2 separate regions of the Homo sapiens genome follow, and region 1 is linked to region 2. Evidence: promoter capture Hi-C in human tissues and cell types (Jung and others, 2019). All regions are on one chromosome and are shown on one strand. The core of a region is centred on a gene start or on the middle of the fragment in contact, and the rest is flanking DNA. Distances in the headings are between cores, read along the strand shown. Region 1 has its middle 13 kb from the start of TNFRSF8. Region 2 holds the start of NPPA (natriuretic peptide A).

Region 1 (3,039 bases), core at 110-2,609, 200 kb after region 2:
CCTTGACCTCCCCAGAAGCTGGGATTATAGGCACGTGCCAACAAGCCCGGCTAATGTTTGTATTTTTAGTAGAGACAGGGTTTCACCATGTTGGTCAGGGTGGTCTCAAACTCCTGACCTTGTGATCCGCCCGCCTCGGCCTCCCAAAGTGTTGGGATTACAGGCGTGAGCCACCGCGCCTGGCCAAGACAGGACCTTTAAAAAGGTAATTAAGGTTAAGCGAGGTCCTAAGGGTGGGGCTTTCAGCTAATGGGATTATCACACTCCTAAGAAGAGAAAAGGACACCAGGAATGCACACGCAGAGAAAAGGCCCCTCAAGGACATAGCAAGAAGGTGATGTCCTCAAGTCAAGGAGCGAGACCTGAGGAAAAAGCAAATCTGCTGACACCTTACTCTCAGATTCACAGCCTTGAGAATGATAAGAAAATAAATTTCTGGGCTGGGCGTGGTGGCTCACTCCTGTAATCCCAGCACTTTGGGAGGCCAAGGCGGGTGGATCACCTGAGGTCAGGAGTTTGAGACCAGCCTGGCAACATGGTAAAACCCCGTCTCTACTAAAAATACAAAAATTAGCCAGGTGTGGTGGCACATGCCTGTAATCCTAGCTACTCGGGAGGCTGAGGCAGGATAATTGCTTGAACCCGGGAGACAGAAGCTGCAGTGAGCAAAGATTGTGCCATTGCACTCCAGCCTGGGTGACAAGAGTGAGACTTTGTCTCGAAAGAAAAAAAAAAAAGGAAATAAATTTCTGTTGCTTAAGCCCTCCAACGTGTGTTGTTCTGTTATACTCAGCCCTAGTGGACTAATACAGGGACTGCTATTGCAATGGCTGGTAGGCACCTAGGAGCTGCTGATCAATGATAGCCATGATTATTGTTTGCATAGCAAACAGTCTTGGAAGCTGGAGGTAGCATCTCCCACTGGGCTAGCGAGCAAATGTATTTACTTTCCAGGACAGTAAGGACTCCCTCCCGTCCCCTAGGGAGATGGCTATTCCAGGGTGATAAAGACAATGTCTTCTCAGGACAGAGGTTGAATAGGTTTGCCAGCAGCCCCTAATGAGATTGGGGGTCTCCCATGGTGTGTGCTCAGCACCAGCCTGGGCTGGTTCCTCACCCTACGTGAAGGGATGTTAAGGGCAAGGGCAAGGGCAAGCAATGCAAATTCAGTGCTCATGCTATGTGCAGGGCTGCAGGTAGTAGACCCTCATTTTATTTTTTCTAGACAGGGTCTTGCTGTGTCACCCAGGCTGGAGGGCAGTGGTGCGATCATGGCTCACTACAGCCTCGACCTCCTGGGCTCAGGCCGTCCTCCCACCTCAGTCCCCCGAGTAGCTGGGACTACAGGAGTATGCCACCACACCCGGCTAATTTTTTTTTTTTTTTTTTGTAGAGATGAGGAGTCTCACTTTGTTGCCCAGGATGGGCAGCTCCTGGGCTCAAGGGATCTGCCCACCTTGGCCTCCCAAATTGCTGGGATTATAGGCATGAGCCACCCTGCCCGGCCAGTAGTAAACCCTTTAAATCTAGCTGGGCTCATTGTCTCCTTAGCATCTGAATCTATCAGAATGTGGCAAGCCGAACTAATTGCTTGAAAAATTATTATTATTTTGAGACTGAATCTCTCTCTATTGCCCAGGCCGGAGTGCAGTGGCACAATCTCGGCTCACTGCAACCTCTGCCTCCCAGGTTCAAGCAATTCTCCTGCCTCAGCCTCCTGATTAGCTGGGAATACAGGTGCCCACCACCACACCCAGCTAATTTTTTTATATTTTTATTAGAAACGGCGTTTCACCATGTTGGCCAGGCTGGTTTCAAACTCCTGACCTTAAGTAATCCACCTGCCTCAGCCTCCCAAAGTGCTAGGATTACAGGGGTAAGCCACCGTGCCCAGCCTATTATTATTTTTAATTTGAGATGGTTATATTCTTTTTTTTTTTTTTGAGATGGAGTCTCGCTCTGCAGTGGCGCAATCTCAGCTCACTGCAACCTCTGCCTCCTGGGTTCAAGCGATTCTCCTGCCTCAGCCTCCCGATTAGCTGGGATTACAGGCACCCACCACCACTCCCAGCTAATTTTTTTTTTTGCATTTTTAGTAGAGACGGGGTTTCACCATGTTGGCAAGGCTGGTCTCGAACTCCTGACCTTAAGTGATCAGCCCGCCTCGGCCTCCCAAAGTGCTGGGATTACAGGCGTGAACCACTGTGCCCGGCCTGCTCTATTTATTAATTCAATAAATATTTATTATGCCAAGCCCTGGTAATAAAGCATTGAGAAACTAGCATTGAGAAACTCCCTGCCCTCAGGGAGCTTGCCTTCTCAAGTCCAGAGCCTCCAGGGGGCTGCGTGAACCAGGTGCAAATACAGTGAGGCTTTGTGCTCCGGCATCTGAGGCCCAGGAGACCTGGGGGCCTGGAGGCAAAATGGTGGCCTCATTTGTCCTGTGGCCGGGCCCTGACTAGATGGCCACAAATTTAGAATAGATCCCTGTCTTTGTGGTATTATAGCTGGGTATCCTGGAGCTTCCTGTGCCAAGCATTTAGCATCTCAGATCTTTGCATAAGTCTGTGATGTCAGTGCCATTGTTATTTCCATTTGATGGATAAGAAAGGCAAGGCCCAGGGTGGTTAACCAGCTGGCTCCAAGTTGCTCAGCTGTGGCTGCAGTAAGAGGTGGGATTTGAACCCAGCTTTCTCTGACTTTACCAAATGCTTTTTTCCCCCAACACCTGGATACCTCTAATTACATTTTATTAATACAGCTTTTTTTTTTTTTTGTTTTTAAACAGAGTCTCACTCTGTCACCCAGCCTGGAGTGCAGTGGTGCAATCCTAGCTCACTGCAGCCTCGATTTCCTGGGTTTAAGCAATTCTCCCGCCTCAGCCTCCCAGGCAGCTGGGACCGCAGGTGAGCACTGTATTAGTCCTACATACCTGGCTAATTAATACTAGGATTTAAAAAAAAAAGTTTGAAGCAATGATCACATAAAAAATGTTTTCTGTGTGCTGCTTATTTTGACCTGAGTTCTGAGGAAGGCGAT
Region 2 (3,070 bases), core at 271-2,770:
GCAAAGATAACTTGGCTCTATGAATATTTTAATTTCCCAGTGCTAGTGGCAGTTGCTTTTTTTTTTTTTTTTTTTGAGACGGAGTCTTGCTCTGTCGCCCAGGCTGGAGTGCAGTGGTGCCATCTCTGCTCACTGCAAGCTCCGCCTCCCGGGTTCACGCCATTCTCCTGCCTCAGCCTCCGGAGTAGCTAGGACTTACAGGCGCCTGCCACCACGCCTGGCTAATTTTTTGTATTTTTAGTAGAGACGGGGTTTCACCGTGTTAGCCAGGATGGTCTCCATCTCCTGACCTCGTGATCCACCCGCCTTGGCCTCCCAAAGCGCTGGGATTACAGGCGTGAGCCACCGTGCCTGGCCTTTTTTTTTTTTTTTTGAGACAGTCTCGCTCTATCACCTAGGCTGGACTGCAGTGGCGTGATCTCTGCTCACTGCAACCTCTGCCTCCTGGGTTCAAGTGATTCTCCTGCCTCAGCCTCCCAAGTAGCTGAGAGTACAGGTGCCCGCCACCACACCCAGCTAATTTTTGTATTTTTAGTAGAGCTGGGGTTTCACCATGTTGGCCAGGATAGTCTTGATCTCTTGACCTCATGATCCGCCTGCCTCGGCCTCCCAAAGTGCTGGGATTACAGGCGTGAGCCACTGTGCCCAGCCCCCCCCCCTTTTTTTTTTAAGCATTTTCTCAGCAGACTAGCTAAGGACAATAGATGGCATGTCCTGACACCCATGGGGCACTCTGGGTGTTGGGGCAGAAACTTGAGAGGGAATGAGCTTCTGCATTGGTCCCTTTCCTGCTGAAGGTGTCTCCCAGTAGTGTCCATCCCATCCCATTTCCATCCCCAGTTCCTCTTACCCGGAAGCTGTTACAGCCCAGTCCGCTCTGGGCTCCAATCCTGTCCATCCTGCCCCCGAAGCAGCTGGATCTCCGCAGGCTCCGAGGGGCAGTGAGCAGCGCCCTCAGCTTGCTTTTTAGGAGGGCAGATCGATCAGAGGAGTCCCAGGGGCCCCGCCCGAGGGCACCTCCATCTCTCTGGGCTGGGCTGACTTCCCCGGTCCAGGGAGGCACCTCAGGGAGGGGGCTGAGAGCAGCCCCCGCTTCTTCATTCGGCTCACTGAGCACTTGTGGGGGCACGACCTCATCTTCTAAAGGCATCTTTTCTTCCAAATGGTCCAGCAAATTCTTTAGAAAAGGAAAATACAGGGAAAGGGATAAACCTCACTGACTTGGAGGAAATCAAGAGGAGTGAGCACAGCATCAGAAAGCCCCCTGGCCCCAGACTGCACCCGCTTTCCTGGCCCTACCTTGAAATCCATCAGGTCTGCGTTGGACACGGCATTGTACATGGGATTAGCTCTGGTCTGACCTAGGAGCTGGAATGCCAGTAAAAGGAGGAAGCTCACGGTGGTGGTGGAGAAGGAGCTCATGCTGGCGTCGTCAAGGAGCAATCCACTGCTTGCTGCTCTGTCTCTCCCCTCTGGTTCCTCTCTGGTTCCCCTCTCTTGGCCTACGTCTGTCCCTGTCTCCCAGCTGCCCAGTGCCGCCTCTTTTTATAGCCCCCCAGCTCTCCAAGCACGCAGGAGAGACAGAACCCTCCCCATTCTGTCACTTGCAGTGATAAAGCTGCCAAGTGAGAAGCCAGCAGGAGATGCCCTTTTAAAGTTATCATCCCGCAGGGCTTGTCACAGCCCCTCTCTGCCTTGGGCAGCCCCAACAGCCCCCCAGACCCTCAGCTGCAAGAGCCGCATTCTTACTGATTTGACTCAAGAGGCTCCCACTTCAAAGGTGTGAGAAGAGTAAAAAAGAGTCCTTGGTTATCTCACCGCCGTGCCTCAGGATTCTTTCTCCTCGACGCTGGTACCCGTGCGGGGAAACAGAGGGTGACGCTTGGCTGGTGCCCAGCTCCCCTGGTTTGTTTGTGGCTCAGCTGTCAGGGCCTCCAAATAAGGGTGGAGAGGAGGAAATGGCAGGCAGCCAGCAGCCCGAGACAAATGGATCCAGATGCTCAAGCTGGCCTCACACCTGCCTCATCCGCCACGTGGGCAGACCTCTGGCCTCAGACAGGGCTGCCTTCACCCCTGGCAGTCCCTCTCCATGGTCAGGCGAAAGGAAGTTATTTTTTAGTATATAAAGTCAGCTGAGAACCAAATGTGATGAAGCTCCCAGGAATCCAACCCCCAAATAGAAATAGCAAGAAAAGGCGGGGGAGCACAAGCATCCTCTCTCCAAAGCTCCTCCTCTTCCATGTCCCCCGCGACCCTCCTCCAGCATGCTGCGGGGACAGGCTTAGAGGACGCAGCCAATTTCATTTCTTCCGTTGCTGTTTATAGATGCTCAGACTCTTCGTGTCTGAAGTTTGTTAACATCCCCCTGCCCTTCCTGGGCTTGTGCCCGTGGCAACTTGACCGATGGAGGAAGGGAGGTGGGGGTGAAGGAGGTATAGTCAGTTTCCCTCAATGCCTTCTACATCCTTCCCTGAGGACGTGGCAAGTGGCAAGTGACCGAGCCACCAAGGTCACAATTTCCCTGGCCCCCAAAAGGGAAATAACAGGCAGCAAGTCTGTCTATGTTTAATGAATGGCCTGTTTGCTAAGCACTGAACTCAGTGTTAGCCATTACCATTCAATGCAACGTATACTGGGGGAAAACTCTAAATTTGAAGGGCTGAGAGACCAGTACTGTAGCCCAAAACAAACCAGTTGCATACCTCTTCGCAGCCTTACTTTCCTTGTGTGTAAAATGAGAAAGAATGTTAAAAACCGGCCGGGTGCAGTGGCTCACACGTATAATCCCAGCACTTTGGGAGGCTAAGGTGGGTGGATCACCTGAGGCCAGGAGTTTGAGACCAGCCCTACCAACATGGCAAAACTCTGTCTCTACTAAAAATATAAAAATTAGCTGGGTGTGGTGGCATGTGCCTGTAATCCCCGCTACTAGGGAGGCTGAGGTAAAAGAATTGCTTGACCTTGGGAGGCGGAGGTTGTAGTGAACCAAGATCGCACCACTGCACTCTAGCCTGGGCAACAGAGTGGGACTCGGTCTCAAAAAATAAATAAATAAATGAATGAATAAAGT

Evidence for each region. Contacts are between HindIII fragments. The study calls those that stand out against the background at their distance.
Region 1: a fragment that was not itself captured here is called in contact with the fragment with the promoter of NPPA in region 2 in 1 of the 25 tissues and cell types used here (spleen).

Annotation. Positions count from the first base shown.
Region 1 is chr1:12,048,947-12,051,985 of GRCh38, forward strand. No RefSeq gene overlaps it. Among named protein-coding and RNA genes, the nearest start is that of TNFRSF8, 13 kb to the right of the region's middle. The HindIII fragment of the contact is 8,815 bases long and covers 1-3,039 here.
Region 2 is chr1:11,846,263-11,849,332 of GRCh38, forward strand. It overlaps NPPA (natriuretic peptide A), which reads right to left and starts at 1,521. Exons shown (of 3, transcript NM_006172.4): 1 at 1,300-1,521; 2 at 851-1,177. The coding sequence starts at 1,422. It also overlaps NPPA-AS1. RefSeq lists an enhancer at 557-2,347. The HindIII fragment of the contact is 8,124 bases long and covers 1,259-3,070 here.